Regions from separate parts of the Homo sapiens genome. Here regions 1, 2, 3 and 4 are each linked to region 5. The links are contacts of gene promoters, found by promoter capture Hi-C in blood cells and fetal thymus (Javierre and others, 2016). All regions are on one chromosome and are shown on one strand. The core of a region is centred on a gene start or on the middle of the fragment in contact, and the rest is flanking DNA. Distances in the headings are between cores, read along the strand shown. Region 1 overlaps AHI1-DT (AHI1 divergent transcript). Region 2 has its middle 49 kb from the start of MTFR2. Region 3 overlaps MTFR2 (mitochondrial fission regulator 2). Region 4 overlaps AHI1-DT (AHI1 divergent transcript). Region 5 holds the start of PDE7B (phosphodiesterase 7B).

Region 1 (3,214 bases), core at 648-3,147, 300 kb before region 5:
GATATAGTCTTTGGTTTCTAATAGGTATTTTTAATAGCATAACATAGCTACACAGAGCATTATTTAGACTGTACATGAGTTACTTGTTTTAAACAACAATTATCCCTTCTTCCCCTGACCCCTCACCCTCCCTCACAACCACCTTCCTATTTGGATGAGTCCTCTGTACATGGCATGGCCAATGGAGTCCACAGACTGACCTGTCACTGCCATGGCCACAGCAGTTCTACATTCAAATGGATTCATGTTCACTGCCTCCACTTTTGCCATAGCTTCTTCTTCCTTTTATTGAATGGTTGAAGTTTGTTTCTTTAAGAAGTCTTCACGGGACCATAGTTCTTAAATTCATCCATGTTTGAAAATGTCTACTGTTTGTCTCTTTATGCCTGGAGAACACTTTATGCCTGGGGAAAACTTTATGCCTGGAGAACTATAAAAATCTCTGAAGTGCATAATCATTTCCCTGAAGACTTGACAGAAAGTTGAAATTTATCTGATTTTTTTCCCTTATAGATGACCAGATTCTTCCTTTATCTTTGAAATTTTATATATTCACCAGAAAAGATACATTACCAGTTTGATCGCTTTCATGCATTTTTGCTGAAACATCATGTGACATTTGAATTTGTAGATTCAAATATTTATTTAAAAATGATTTTTAAGTTATATTTTTGAGTACCTTTCTGGGTCTTATTGTTTTCTGTTTCATGGACCCTAAATAAATGTATACTTCATTTCTTTTGTCTGTCTTCCTTCCATAGCTTTACTTTCCTCTCTAGTCCTTTTAAACTCTTTTGGTTTGGCACAGTATTCTCAAGCTTGTTCTTCAGGTCCTTGAATTTGTTCTATCTGTCCTCCTTTCCGTGATATCTAAATGTGACATTCATTTTTGTGATGGTCTTATTTTCCCCTTCCATTTCCACCTAAGTTCTAGCATTTACAGAGGTGGTTCTTTCATTAAGTTCTCCTATCCAGGAGGACAGTTTAAAGTTTTCATCAGCTTCATGACAATACATTTGAGGTATGTGTTGTGGGCTTGTATCTATTTTTGGAAGAGGTTGTATTTCTTTTCTTTTTTAAGAGTGTTTTTACTTTGATCTCATGCTTTAAAAAATATCTGATCTTTGAATGAGAGAAAGTCTTTTTCTCAGCTCTTAGTTGAACTATAGAATAGTGCTATTTTACCCTAATCTGTCTCTAATATGATTATTTACAATGGTTCAAATGCATTTTCAGCAGAAAAATTGTTTTTTTGAATAAGTTCCAAACTTGCTTTCCTTATTAAAAGAAGCTAGTTGGAACTTGGGTCTGTGTGCTTAATTTTTAAGCAAAATGGAGCTTTTGCTCAAAATGGAGCTTCACTGCTTTCATTGGTTATAAAATTGAACCTCATGGGAAGTGTAAACATAAAAAGCATAAAGAAGAAAGCAAGAATCACCCATAATTTTTACCACTTAGAGATAATCACCATCATTTTGATGTATATAAGACTGTAATTTTTAAAGTATGTAAATTTATGTGACACATGTTTGTATATATAGTGTGTATACACACATACACAGATAAATGGCAGATATTTGCATGTGTGTGTATACACACACATTCATACATATATGTGTACTTAGTATATATATACACATACATGTGCTCATACTATACATACGTAATAAAGTGATCTAACTTTGCTTTTTCCCTAAAGGTCAGAGCTGATGTTCTCAAACCTTGCACAGAGGTCAGCCCTAGGGCACAAGAGCAAATTCATAGGGTGGGTGCCATGGGAATTGAAAAAAGTTTTTTCTTTATTTTCTCTAATTCTGATCCTGACCCTGACCCCAAACCCTAACCTTAACCCTAACCCTAACCCCTGGAATTTTAAAATTATTGAGAAAAATATAGTGAATGCTAGATGACCAGTTAGTGGGTGCAGCGCACCAGCATGGCACATGTATACATATGTAACTAACCTGTGCAATGTGCACATGTACCCTAAAACTTAAAGTATAATAAAACAAACAAACAAACAAACAAAAATATAGTGACATTGATATCTTTTAGATACTTTTTGAGATACTAAATGGAAGTAGTTCATTTTATAGTTCTGTCTTTAGATTGAGCTATGTTCCTTTCAATGATGTTATCTTTGCAAATCTGAGTTGATGAAATTAAAAGCAAGTAAATACCCTGTGAAAATTATCTGGGAACAGGAAACGAGGGTGGCAGTATTCATTCTAAGTCCAAGGCTTGAGAAATTGTGCAGTGCCCAACATTAAACAGATCCCATTAATAAGTAATTTGGTTAAGAATGACATAAAAATAATATTTCAATTTATGTGTATTATTTCTTTCAAGCATGGAAATCTGTGCCCGGCAAAACCCTCAATCAAATATATGGCATAAAAAAGATATTTTTAGACCCCTAAGATCTTAAAACAGTTACCTCTCTTCTAATTGGTCTAAAAACTTTCTCAGGAACCTGTTGGAGAATGTACTCCTTGGAAATAAGGAAGAAAGAGGATCCAGGGAACAGGAGTTTCACCACAGAGGAGCAGGAAAGGGAATTCCCAGTATGATGGCAAGTTGCTAAATTAAATGTTTTGCCCATTATTTTTTACTGGGCTGTTGGTCTTTTTCTTATTGACTTAAAGAACTCTTTATTATAGGAGATAAACCTTTGTTGTGTTGCAAATTATTTCTTGAAATGTTTTTACCTCTTGAATTTGTCTTTGAGTTTCTTTTTTCTTTGCTCTACAGAAACTTAAAATATTTATTTGATCAAATTGATTAACGTAAGGATAATTTTAACTCTCAGATCCTGTGACCCTATTAAGTTAGATACTATAACTTACAGAAACTAAGCCAGCTGTCTGACTTCTTCGGACTTTAGATTTGTTATCTGTAACATGACGAGTCTTCTGCTAGCTATTTGTGAAGTCCCTTCCAACTGTGATTATTGATCAGTATTGACTTCATGTGATGGGAAGCTTTTGACAACAAATTTAAATTAGCTCCTGGAAAAATTCTAGAAACAATCAACAACAGGATTTTAGATAAAACCATGATATTAAACATCATAAAACCACAAAATATACAGATTGAAGTGGCAGAAAAATTCAGTGACTACTGCTGAGACGACATGGAGAAAGAACACTTCCTCATTTTGTCTGAGGCCTGGTGATTCAACGGCTGTGTGAACGGAAGGTAGGGCATCAGCAGG
Region 2 (2,907 bases), core at 328-2,827, 350 kb after region 5:
CTAAATTGCTTCCTTTGCGGGACAAATATGAATCTATTGTAATGCACAATCCAAGAGGAGACAGAGACAAATCCCAGTGCTCATCTTTAAAAAAGAACAGGGAATGGCAGATGAGTCTCTTATTTTATCCTTGTTAAAAGCACTTCAGATTACACATAACCTACTCCTACTCTTCTTCCCAGTAAGCAATTATATGTGCATTTTTTAAGTTGTCAGCAAAGTAAGCCTAATGGACCAAAATGTATGATCAGTTTTGGGGATTATTTATTTCTTCCTTCTTCCCACTGCTATAATTTACTTTGAGCCTTTTTTTTTTTTTAACAGGAGAGTCAGACTTTACATTTCAATGAATTCATTTTCTCAGAAACATCTGTCTCAGTCCACATTTGAAAAAAAAAAACTTCTACATGAAAACAAAAGACCTATAGTGTTATAGAACAGCATAAGTGAGAATTATACTCTGTAATTATCAGTTTTCAAGTATTAACCTTACTGAGATGGAGACAACAAAAAGTTCTGATCTTTCAATACTTGAGTTATGTAACGTTCTGAAATATTTCTGAGATGCCTCTACTGACTTTAGTTATTAAAAATGTGTTATTTTAGAAATAGCTTATCAAAAAATACCTTTTGGCATCTGGAGCTTTATCTTAAACTCTAACGGGAAGCTTGAGATTTTTTTTCTCTTATCAGTGTGGGCTTTTTTGTTGTTTGAGACCGAGTCTCGTTCTGTTGCCCAGGCTGGAGTGCAGTGGTGCAATCTCGGCTCACTGCAACCTCCTCCTCCCGGGTTCAAGTGATTCCCATGCCTCAGCCTCCTGAGTAGCTGGGATTAGGATTACAGGCACATGCCACCATGCCCAGCTAATTTTTGTATTTTTAGTAGAGACGAGGTTTTACCATGTTAGCCAGGCTGGTCTCAAACTCTTGACCTCAAGTGATCCACCCTCCTCAGTCTCCTAAAGTGCTGGGATTACAGACCCGAGCCACCATGCCCAGCCTCCGTGTTTTTTTAGTAGTAGGTTTCCAGTTCTCAAGTATGATTTAGTGAATGTTCAGCCCCACCACCAACCTGCAGAAATGTCAGGCAGCCAAGCACAGGCCCTATCCCCACAGTGATTGTCTGATCACTGCACAGACTGTGAAGTCCCCAGGTACCAGTGCCAGCCTCTGAGGAGGATAAGATGAGAAGAGACTTCAACAGGGTGGGCAGGCCACAGTGCAAGGGCTGCGTGCCAGGACCTCATTCTGCTGAGAGTTGGGGTATGTACAAGTGTCATTGAGAAAGGCCTAAGATTGTGGAGGGAGGTGGGTAACCTGACTTGAATATCTAAAAGGTATGTGACATGTCAATAAAGCTTCATTTGGGCTAGCAAGCAAACCAGAAGCAATTAACTAGACATCACTGTTTCTTCTTGGTATAGTCAGAGCTAAGTGTTCTAGGAACACTTAAACATTTTTGTACATATTATTGGTAAAGGCTCTGACCAGATGTCAATGATATTGGCAAACTTTGTCCATATAAATCAGGTGACTTGTAAGAAGTGTTCACTGAGGCTTAATTTTATTTCAGAAACAACGGCATTACTGCCTAGTTTACAATTTATAGTGAGCATTAGAGCTGATGTCATATGTTCCTTGCACTGTATTGACACGTGTGAACAGCAGGCATTGGCCAGAAACAACGCTGGTGCCATCTATGTTCCATTTGCAGCAAGAGATTACTCAACTCTTACTCTAACTCAAATGAGACTGTCAACGAAGATAGGAGGCATGGAGGAGAACTGACAAGAGGAGAAAGCTTATATTGATTCCGTATCCTGTGAGGGAAAATAAGCATTTAAGGAAGAATAACCAAGATGAATCAAATTACTCACTGAGTATGAGTTTTCTAGGGCTGCCCTAACAGATTACCAGAGTGGCTTCAAATACAAAAATGTATTCTCTCACAGTTCTGGAGGCTAGAAGTCTGAAATCAAGGTATCAGCAGGTCTCTGAGCTCTCTGAAGCTACCAGGGAAGAGTCCTTCCTTCCTTCTTCTAGCTCCCAGAGCTCACCAGAAATCCATGCCGGTCCTTGAGTGGTGGCAGCATAACTCCAACCTTTGCCTCCATCATCACAGGCCTTCGTCCCCATGGGTCTGTTTTCCCTTCTTACATGGACACGAGCCAGGGACTAGGGCCCACCCTAATCCCATATGGCTTCATCTTAACTAATTACATCTGCAAAGACTATTGCCAAGTAAGGTCATATTCTGAGGTTCTGGATGGACAGCAACTATAGGGGGCAGTATTCAGCTGAGGACACCTAGACACTCCTCACTCCTCACTCACTCACCCAATGCTTTACCTCCTACAGACACTCCTCACTCACTCACCTTTACCTCCTACCCATCCCCGGTACACATACACACATACACACACACACACACACACACACACACACACACACACACAGTCCATACGCATCTGTCAGACTCTTTAACTTTTTATTTGGAGATAATTGTAGATTTAAATGTTCTCGTAAGAAATAATACAGAGTTGGAACTTGGGGGTAAGTAGTCAAAATGAAAATAAAAGAAATAGAGAAGCTGAGCACAGCTGCTGATGCCTGTAATCCCAATACTTTAGGAGGCCGAGGCAGGAGGATCACTTGAGGCTAGGAGTTTGAGACCAGCCTGGGCAACATAGCAAGACCTCATCTCTATTAAATTTTTTTTTAATTAGCTGGGTGTAGTGGCACACACCTGTAGTCCCAGCTACTTGGGAGGCTGAGATGGGAGGATCACTTGAGCCCAAAGGTTGAGGCTGCAGGGAGCTGTTTCACACCACTGCACTCCTGCCTGGGGCAAGAGAGTGAGACCCTATCTCAAAAAAAAAAAAAAAAGAAAGAAAGAAAGAAAGAAAT
Region 3 (2,974 bases), core at 303-2,802, 390 kb after region 5:
TAAATGTTATAAATATACACTGTATAAATATCTTAAATTATATGTGTATTTATGCATTTGTATATATACATATGTATTAAAAAATTTTTAGCAATTATATTTACACACAGCCCTTTACAGCCAAATCTGTTGTGAAAAGCATTCAGTACCTAGATTGCTTTACATTTTATACACGCATACATACATGTTGTGTGTATGTGTGTGCATAAGTTTAAAGCAAGTTGTATCTCTATAAATTTATAAAACAATCATCTGGAAAACATGACTCACCTCAACTTGGTGGAAGTGTAGCAGCAATAACTAAAAACTATAAACATATGATGCCTCAAACCTATATCCTCTTTCAAACCAATGCATTCTTCCTCTTTAATATCCAATGCTTTCATGAAGAGTTAGAAAAGCTTACTGAGGGCCGGGCGCGGTGGCTCACGCCTGTAATCCCAGCACTTTGGGAGGCCAAGGCGGGCAGATCACGAGGTCAGGAGATCGAGACCATCCTGGCTAACACGGTGAAACCCCGTCTCTACTAAAAATACAAAAAATTAGCCGAGCGTGGTGGCGGGCGCCTGTAGTCCCAGCTACTCGAGAGGCTGAGGCAGGAGAATGGCGTGAACCCGGGAGGTGGAGCTTGCAGTGAGCCAAGATCGTGCCACTGCACTCCAGCCTGGGCGACAGAGCAAGACTGCGTCTCAAAAAAAAAAAAAAAAAGCTTACTTAGAAGACAACAGACTTTTTAATACAAAAATACAATCTTCTAGTATAGTAAAGCTAGTTCTTCTTTAAATCAAAGCCATCCCCTCACTACAAATGTGTCTTAATTTATCCTGAATAAACATCAGATATAATAATTTTGTATATTCAACATCCTTTTATGTACATTTAATGTTTTCATGGTACTTATTCAGAATTGTACTCACTTAAATACTAGATGTTCCTGTATGCTACTATACGTACTATATTCAGTACAGTATCATGCTGTACAGGTTGGTATAGGCTATACCATGAGTATCATCTAACTGAAACAAAAATCCTACTGTTACTTACTAGAATTTGTACTATTTTTCAGTTCCTGCATTTCCACAATTGCTGCAATCTGAGAGCGAAGAAAAGTCAGCTCATTTTCAAGGGCAGCTATTTTTCTAATTGCAGCTTCATTTACAGGCAGGTCATTTTTCACAGTTTCTTTCTGTCTTACAGCAGGTGACAGTGGATCCCGAACTAGTCGCAAAGGATGAAAAATTTCCACTTTCTCTTCTTCATTTTTCCATATACTATTTCTGTGGGTGAAAAAAAATAGGAAATGGAGGGAAGATATATTTCCAATCAAAAGAGGTATAAACTCTTACACTCCTACGTGAAAATCAAAAGACAATAAAACAAAATAAAAGCTACTCTCAGGCCGGGCACAGTGGCTCACACCTGTAATCCCAACACTTTGGGGGCTGAGGCAGTGAATCACCTGAGGCCAGGAGTTCGAGACCAGCCTGGTCAAAATGGCGAAACCCTGTCTCTACTAAAAATATTTTTAAAAATTCGCCGGTGTGATGACGTGCCCCTGTAGTCCCAGCTACTCAGGAGGCTGAGGCAGGAGAATCACTTGAGCCTGGGAGGCAGAGGTTGTGGTGAGCCAAGATCGTGCCATTGCACTCCAGCCTGGTCGACAGAGTAAGACTCTGTCTCAAAAAAAAAAAAAAAAAAAAAAAAAAAAACCTACTCTCTATCCCCCATGATTGTTTCTAGAGTCACCACTGAGGACAAGGAAAATATCTTATTTAGCTTTGTATTCCCAATATAAACAGAACATAGCCTCCAATGGAGGACCAGTCAGTGACCAGGGAATGAACAAAACAAACTTTGCTTTTAGATTATAAAACCAAAATAATTACCTGCAATTGTTCTACTTATTAACTTTAAACGCAGGTAAGTTAATTTATTTAGAAGTTCTATATAAGTTAATAAAGAGCCTTACATTCAGGATTATGTTAGGGTGAAATGTATGTTATTTTAACTATTTGAAAATTGGTGCCAGTTTGATACATAATAAAATCAGCCGGAATACTTAAATAATTGACACTTAATGTGCTTAGAGCCTGTATCTGAATATACTAACATATAAAGTAATACTCCCTAGGAGTAACACATCCAAATTTTGAAATACATTTAACATCATTGCCTGGTGCACAGTAAACAGTATATAAGTTTTGGCTAAAAACATGATTCTAATATCCCTTTAATAACCACTCCCTCCTAGGCCTGGTGTTAGGTTTAAATGTGCACTAAAAAAAAAACAACTGGCTAAAAAAATGAAAAGCAGCCAGTCTTCTTTATTAAGAAGATACAGTAGGGCACAGCACAGTTTGAAGATAAACAAAACAAAAAAGCTCAATCAATCTTAACAAGCTTCGACACATGCAAGAATTCAGTTTATAGCCCACTTCCCAAGATAAGCATATAAAATTACCGAAATCTGAGATAACTGGCTTCTTCATCATTTGCCACATACAAAATATCAGCAAAAGATGGAACCATAGATCCACAATTATCAGAGTCTACAGAGTTCAAGAGCGGGATCAACTAAAGTAAAAAAAGAAAAAAATAGTCAGAGCTCTGCAGGGAGTCAGGAGAAGACACATGCCCCATGGTATTAAATTAGTTAACAATCCAAAAGAAAGAAAAATAAAAAGAATATTCAATAGAAAAACATGTACCTGTTAGCACGAAAGAACACTGGGGAAAATGTTATGCTGAAGTCTAAGCACTAAGCAATATTCTCTCCCCTGGTTAATTTCATCTATCACAAAATGCAAAATAAAATTAAGCTCTTCAGTTATTGTTCACACTTGCCCATCTGTGAATGTCATTACAGACATGTACCACGTAACATTTAGGTCGATCATGGACTGCATATACATGGGGTCACATAAGATTATGATGAAACTGAAATATTCCTATCACCTAGTATTTACTATATTAT
Region 4 (3,018 bases), core at 312-2,811, 350 kb before region 5:
ATTCTGAGGTACTTTAAGGTTAGAACTTCAACATATGCATTTGGAACTGGGGCATAACTGAGTCCATGACACTATTGGAGAGGGTTCTGGAGCCATAACAGATGGAATGAATGGGCCTTGTTTGGATTCTAATTTAAATAAACCAACTATAGAAAAACATGTTTTAGGCAATCAGATTTTTTGTTATGGGCTAAATATTTAGAAGATGTTAAGAAATGTTTATTAATTTCATTAGGTAAAATAATGTTGGTGTGGTTATGTAGAGTATGACTTACGTGCACAGAACAGAATGATAAGGTGTCCAGGATTTGCTTTAAAATATTCTAGATTTTTTTAAAAGGTGAGAGGAAATGACACATGTATATCTAAATTTTGATGGTTGTTGAAGCTGGCTGGTAGGTACCTAGTATTTCATTATACTTTTTCCTTTGTGTGTTTGGAAATTTTTATAATAAGCAGGAAAAATAAAAGTAAGAATATATGTATTATAGATAATTTGAAATATGTAGAATCATGAAAAAAAGGAAAAAATACTCAATACCACTACCCAAGAGAATCTAAATTAACTTTTTTGACAAATTTCGTTTCAGTCTGTTTTCCATGCGTATTTTAATTTTGGTCATGTTGTGTGTAAAATGTTTATTTCTGCTTACTTGAATGAACATTATGTTGCAATTTCATTTCCATGCTATTACAATAGTGCCCCCTTAACCATGGTTTTGCTTTCTGAGGTTTCACTCAACAAGCTTGGTTTGAAAATTTTTAGAGAGAAAATAAGAGATTACATTTACATAATAACTATTAATACAGTATATTGTTATAAAAACTTTATATTGTTATTAGTTATTGCTGTTAATCTCTTACTGGGCCTAATTTATAAATTAAACTTTATGAGAGGTGTGAAAGTTGATTATAGAAATTGGGTCATTCTTGTTGTACCCAACTAAATCAGAGTGAAGGGCCCAGGGGAAAAAGCATTTGGGGCATATAGCATCTGCTCCAAGAATTAAATTTTCCACAAGCCCAGCTACTGAAACTGCCTGTTGTAATCTGAAATCAGTTTTATCTGATAGCTAATGAAATAACCTGCTGTGACACTAAGATTAGTTTTACCCACTGCCATCACTCGCCAATCAGAGCTCGCCAGCTCCCCAAATGTTACCCATTGTTTCTTTGCAAAACAATGGGTAACATTTTTCCTTTTTATAAAACCTCCAACCTGATCTTTGTTTTTCAGACATACTGAAGACCACCCATTCTGTGTGTTTGCCTGGAAATGCAATTCTCATTTCCCAAATAAAATGTTTGAAATGTGGAAATTTGACTCTATGTTTTATTTGACTTTGAGAAAGGCATGCAAGTATAGTAAATACAGGCTTTGCTACTACCTGTAGTTTCAGACATCCACTGGGGATCTTGGAACATATCCCATGCAGATAAGAAGGAGATGCTGTATATATCACCACTTAATCATCACTGGAAATTCTAACTTTGTTAGTAATGTTCTTATGTGCACGTGGAAAAATTTCAAACAATCGTTCAGATATTTATAATGTGGTAACCGAAAGTCAGCCGTGTTTTTAATCACTGATCAGTCTTCTATACATTCTTTCATACTTCCATTCATACATATACTAAATATACTAAATTATAAAGATAACTTCTTACCATAGATTTTGTCCTGTCATCTTGTTTTTGTCCTTTATCAAGTATTATTATTTCTAAAAGGCTTTTTATGTCAGTAACATATATCTACCCCATTCATTTTAATGGCTTTATGCTATATCACTTCTAATCCAAAGTGTTTTTAAGCAATTATAGTGAAAGTGTCAAAAGGTGATATGGTGGCTTTTAAAAAATAAGATACTTTTCTTATAAGTCTCTCATATTATTATTTATTCCTCAGCATTTTATAGATTTTTGGTGCTATTTTGAATGCATCCAATTCTTATTACATTTTCTAACCGGTGATTGCACATTTTCCTGCTTTTCCTCTTTCTAGGGCTCCTTTACTAGTTCATGCCTATCACCTTGACCTCTTGATATTGGAATGTCCCAGAGGTATGTTCCTGGACTTCTCTATCTACACGTACTCACTCAGTGATTTCTTACAGTTCTATAGTCCCACTGTCATGTAGACTACTCCCAAATATATCCCTTCTGCCCATTATTCTTCCTTGAACTTCAGACTCATAAATCTAACTGTATATTACATGTCTCCACTTAGATGTCCGACATATTCTCAAACTTAACTTTTCTAACACTGAATTCCTCATCTGCCTCCTCAAATCCCCACTTTCTCCATCTCAAGCAATGACAACTCCATTCTTCCAGTTACTCAAGCCAAACACCAAATACATTGGAGTAACTGTTAAATCAAGCTTAGCCTAAAACTACCTCCTTACATATTTTAAATTCAGCCTAAATGTTTCTTTGTACATCTTAAACTATAACAAGTAGAAGTGTAACCAGATGTAGCCTACACTTGGGCCAATCACCAAGTTTTGGCCAATCAAATGTCGTCAACTATTCAAACCATGTTTAAATAAGGCAAACACAAAGCTGTAACCAATCCAGCTGGTTCTGTACCTCACTTCCATTTTCTGTGCCTCACTCCTTTTTCTGTCCATAAATCTTCCAGCACATGGCTGCGCTGGAGTCTCCGAGCCTACTCTGTCTGGGAAGGCTGTCTGATTTGCAAATCATTCACTGCTCAATTAAATTCCTTTAAATTTAATTCAGTTAAAGTTTTTCTTTTATCATAACCTTTGACCTTTCTCCTTTTCTTATACCCCATATCCAACCTATCAGATTACTATAGGTTCGAACCCAAATCCTATGAAACAGAGGATATGGTTATAATTTTGAGGGAAGATTTTTTTTTTCTCTACCTGAACTTTAGCCCCTACAAACAAACTTCCTTGTTTATCTTTGCTGCTGTAATCTTTTAAGGGTTCCACTTTTATGCAAACATCTTAGTTCTCACACTGAGCAAGGCCTTGAATCCTATGCTTTGGG
Region 5 (2,996 bases), core at 248-2,747:
GCTATGTCCCATCATTCGGGCCTCCGCTCCAAGTTGCTTTATCAGAGGGCTGCCCTGATCATCTTTCCTAAAATAGCACACACACCACACACACACACATGCACGTGTACACACACACCTCATTCTCCTTACCTTATTTTGAAGCCCTCATTGCCAACTGACATTATACGTTTACTTATTTTTCTTTGACAATTTCCCTGCTTCTCCAAAATGTAGACTCCATGGGGGCAAAGAACCATCTGTTTTGTTCACTATTGTAGCTTCAACACCAAAGATAAACCCCAACAACTACAGGGATGCTTAATCCTAGCGCCTAGGCTCTTAGGGATACATAAATACTTTCTTTCTCAAAGAAACAATATTAGTATTTGAAAAAGGAATGTGGACATTCTTTAGTGTTGCGCCCACCCCTAAAACATAGTCTGCCTCGGAGCAATGGAGAAATCTGATTGGCCCCTGTGGGTCCCATGCCCCCTTGTGGCTCTGTCGTGGGAATGGGGCTGGGGGCAAAGTCCATGCAATCCATAGAAGATAGAGGAAGGAAAGTTCCGCCCACCGCCCACCCAAAAAAGGTCTGTTAGCAGAATTTAGGATGGGGATGGGGAAAAGGAGGAGGATGTGGGGGAGGCAGAAACAACAGATGGCAACTATGGGGATTTTTCCAGAGTGGGAAGTGTAACCCAGGGATAAGCTGGGGTCCCTGGTAAAGGAAGTATCCCTAAATAACTGGACCTTCATACTCTTTGGGAAAGAACAAGCTGAGGCCCCAGGCACACCTGCATGGCATCACCATAGCCTTGCTTCTTGAATGACTCCTGCTGGCATCAGGAGGCATCTCCCTGGCAGGAACAAGCCTGAGGCTTCACCACGGAAGCTGGAGGAAACGCAGGGACCCATGGCACAAACTGACACAGGAGTTCTATGTTTCATTGCACATCATTTTGTTCACCAGTGCATTTGTACGATTCTGCCTCTATGGCTATCAAGTTTAATTAACAACTCATTTTTAGGTAAGAGTAAAAATGAATTAGGTAAAAAAAAATAAGCAACAGCTGCCAAGTGAGCATGGAGCACATACACTCACAGATGGAAAAAATCTACATCTTGCTGCTATGATTTAGCTCAGGGTTTTATATTTAATTTTTGTTTTGTTTTGCTTTTGTTTTTATACACCTCACCACAAGGTATTTTAAATTCTTTAAATGTATTCCCGAATATAGAAAATGTTTCTTGGGCTCTCCTGAGAGTGGGGTGCCCAGGCTGACCACAGGCACACACACATTCTTCCCATAGTACAGTACTTTAAAATTAATAGCACATGCAGAGGAAAAACTAAACCCTTTGACGTCACTCTTGAAATGAGGAAACATAAACAGAAAAGGCTCCACTCCAGTAAGCTGCCAGAGTTGAAGCCGATTGGTCTCTGCTTTTCCTTGCCTGTGGCAACTGACAGCACCTCCCAGCCTAGCAGGCCGGCGGCTGCTCACCCAGCCAGTCAGTTGGTCTGGGCACTGCAGCAGGCTCGGCTCTGTCCCAGCACTTGTCTGGGAGAAAAGTGGTGTTACTCACCCAGGGAGAGTCTCTCTTTCTACCTTCCTTCTTTCTCGATCTCCTTGTGTGCTTTTGTGTTTCTTTATTTCTTTTCCTTTTTTTTCTTTTTTTTTTTTTGTTACTTAATTATATTCCTAATCCTGGATGAAGTTGCTGGATTCTGCAGCACAAGTCTTCATGAACAAGCAGCACCGCTCAGAGATTTCACGGCATTCAAAGGTCACAGAACTGCCACTATGGTTAAATGTCTTGTTTAATGGTTGAGGTATGTACAACAAATTTAAGCGGCAAGCTCAGTTTTCTTGAGAGAATAGAGTCACAGAGAGATGGCAGGATTTTTATTTAAAATGAACCTGTACATATATATGTTTTTTGTCTGTGATTGTTACTACAGCAACCAGCTTTTGAATTTCCTTCCTTTTTCTAGGCGAACTGACTAAACATTATCACTTACCCTGAATTAACCGTTTAAGGGCAGCAGGGTTTCATTCCAACCAGTGTAATGAGACTCCGGCATTTTCACTGCACTTTGAGCCCACACTGAGGTGGTCTTTAAAAAAAAAAATAAAGAATGCAATATTTTTTTTCTCCAACATAAATCTTGGAGTTGGGTAATTTTCATTTTTGGTGGGACAGGATAGGAAAATGCTGGTAAAGGGATTGGTAAGGTTTGTGGAACAGGGAAGAAGGAAATTAGTTTTTTTCTTGAGTTTTTCATGTTGGTTGATAGCAGACTTCAAGATGAAGAAATTAGTGGCAAGAAGGGAAGAAGCTGATAGTGAGACTGAAGGTAGAAAAAAATCAATAGAAGATGTCCAAAAAATGAGCTCTGAAGAAAAATCCTTCATCACCTTGTTGCATTTTTCAAAAAATGTTTTGGATTCAGAAGTCCAGGAGAGATGCAAGTACTAAGTTACATGACCAGAAATTTAGATATTATTATTTATAAAGGAAAGTAAAACTTCTTTATTACCACTGCAAATTTGCTAATTATCTTTTCCTACAATAGTTGAAAATGGAGTCAGATATTCAATTAGGGGCTTAAGTGATTGAGCCTGGGGACTAATTAATCATTTAAAAATTCTGTTCTTCATGTGCTCTAGCCAGAGTGACTATTGCAATAAGAGTAAACCTCTTTGCACCAGAGACAGGCATAGGCATTCATATACAGTAAACACACTAAATGCTGCAGGAAGATTGGCAATTCAATACAGGGCTAATGTTGTTTTCAGTGGCACATTATTATGTCTTAAGGAGGATCCCTGCTAAAAATCATTCCTATCCAAAGAGTCGGTTTTTGTAACAGCAATTTAAGTAATATATGGTTACCATGGATTTCCCTATTACCCTTCTCAAAGTTATGCAATAGCAAATAAGACAGGATTATTTGAAATCCTTACCCTGTTCCAAAATTTCTAACCGATTTTCTTAAAGTTTCTATTCTC

Evidence for each region. Contacts are between HindIII fragments. The CHiCAGO score rates a contact against its expected background, and 5 or more counts as called.
Region 1: a contact is called between a fragment that was not itself captured here and the fragment with the promoter of PDE7B in region 5, in 1 of 17 cell types (endothelial precursors). The highest score is 5.1, in endothelial precursors.
Region 2: a contact is called between a fragment that was not itself captured here and the fragment with the promoter of PDE7B in region 5, in 3 of 17 cell types (M2 macrophages, M1 macrophages and megakaryocytes). The highest score is 5.6, in M2 macrophages.
Region 3: a contact is called between a fragment that was not itself captured here and the fragment with the promoter of PDE7B in region 5, in 1 of 17 cell types (total B cells). The highest score is 6.1, in total B cells.
Region 4: a contact is called between a fragment that was not itself captured here and the fragment with the promoter of PDE7B in region 5, in 5 of 17 cell types (erythroblasts, total B cells, naive CD4 T cells and 2 more). The highest score is 6.5, in erythroblasts.

What each region holds. Positions count from the first base shown.
Region 1 is chr6:135,552,559-135,555,772 of GRCh38, forward strand. All of the region lies in intron 2 of AHI1-DT (AHI1 divergent transcript), which reads left to right. Among named protein-coding and RNA genes, the nearest start is that of AHI1-DT, 56 kb to the left of the region's middle. The HindIII fragment of the contact is 2,163 bases long and covers 817-2,979 here.
Region 2 is chr6:136,200,221-136,203,127 of GRCh38, forward strand. No RefSeq gene overlaps it. Among named protein-coding and RNA genes, the nearest start is that of MTFR2, 49 kb to the right of the region's middle. The HindIII fragment of the contact is 443 bases long and covers 1,357-1,799 here.
Region 3 is chr6:136,240,400-136,243,373 of GRCh38, forward strand. MTFR2 (mitochondrial fission regulator 2) reads right to left here. Exons shown (of 8, transcript NM_001099286.3): 4 at 2,462-2,574; 5 at 1,045-1,277. Among named protein-coding and RNA genes, the nearest start is that of MTFR2, 8.4 kb to the right of the region's middle. The HindIII fragment of the contact is 1,691 bases long and covers 708-2,398 here.
Region 4 is chr6:135,502,814-135,505,831 of GRCh38, forward strand. The region is part of intron 2 of AHI1-DT (AHI1 divergent transcript); the gene reads left to right. Among named protein-coding and RNA genes, the nearest start is that of AHI1-DT, 6.5 kb to the left of the region's middle. The HindIII fragment of the contact is 1,635 bases long and covers 745-2,379 here.
Region 5 is chr6:135,850,204-135,853,199 of GRCh38, forward strand. It overlaps PDE7B (phosphodiesterase 7B), which reads left to right and starts at 1,498. Exons shown (of 13, transcript NM_018945.4): 1 at 1,498-1,816. The coding sequence starts at 1,796. RefSeq lists a silencer at 1,285-1,522. The HindIII fragment of the contact is 11,590 bases long and covers 1-2,996 here.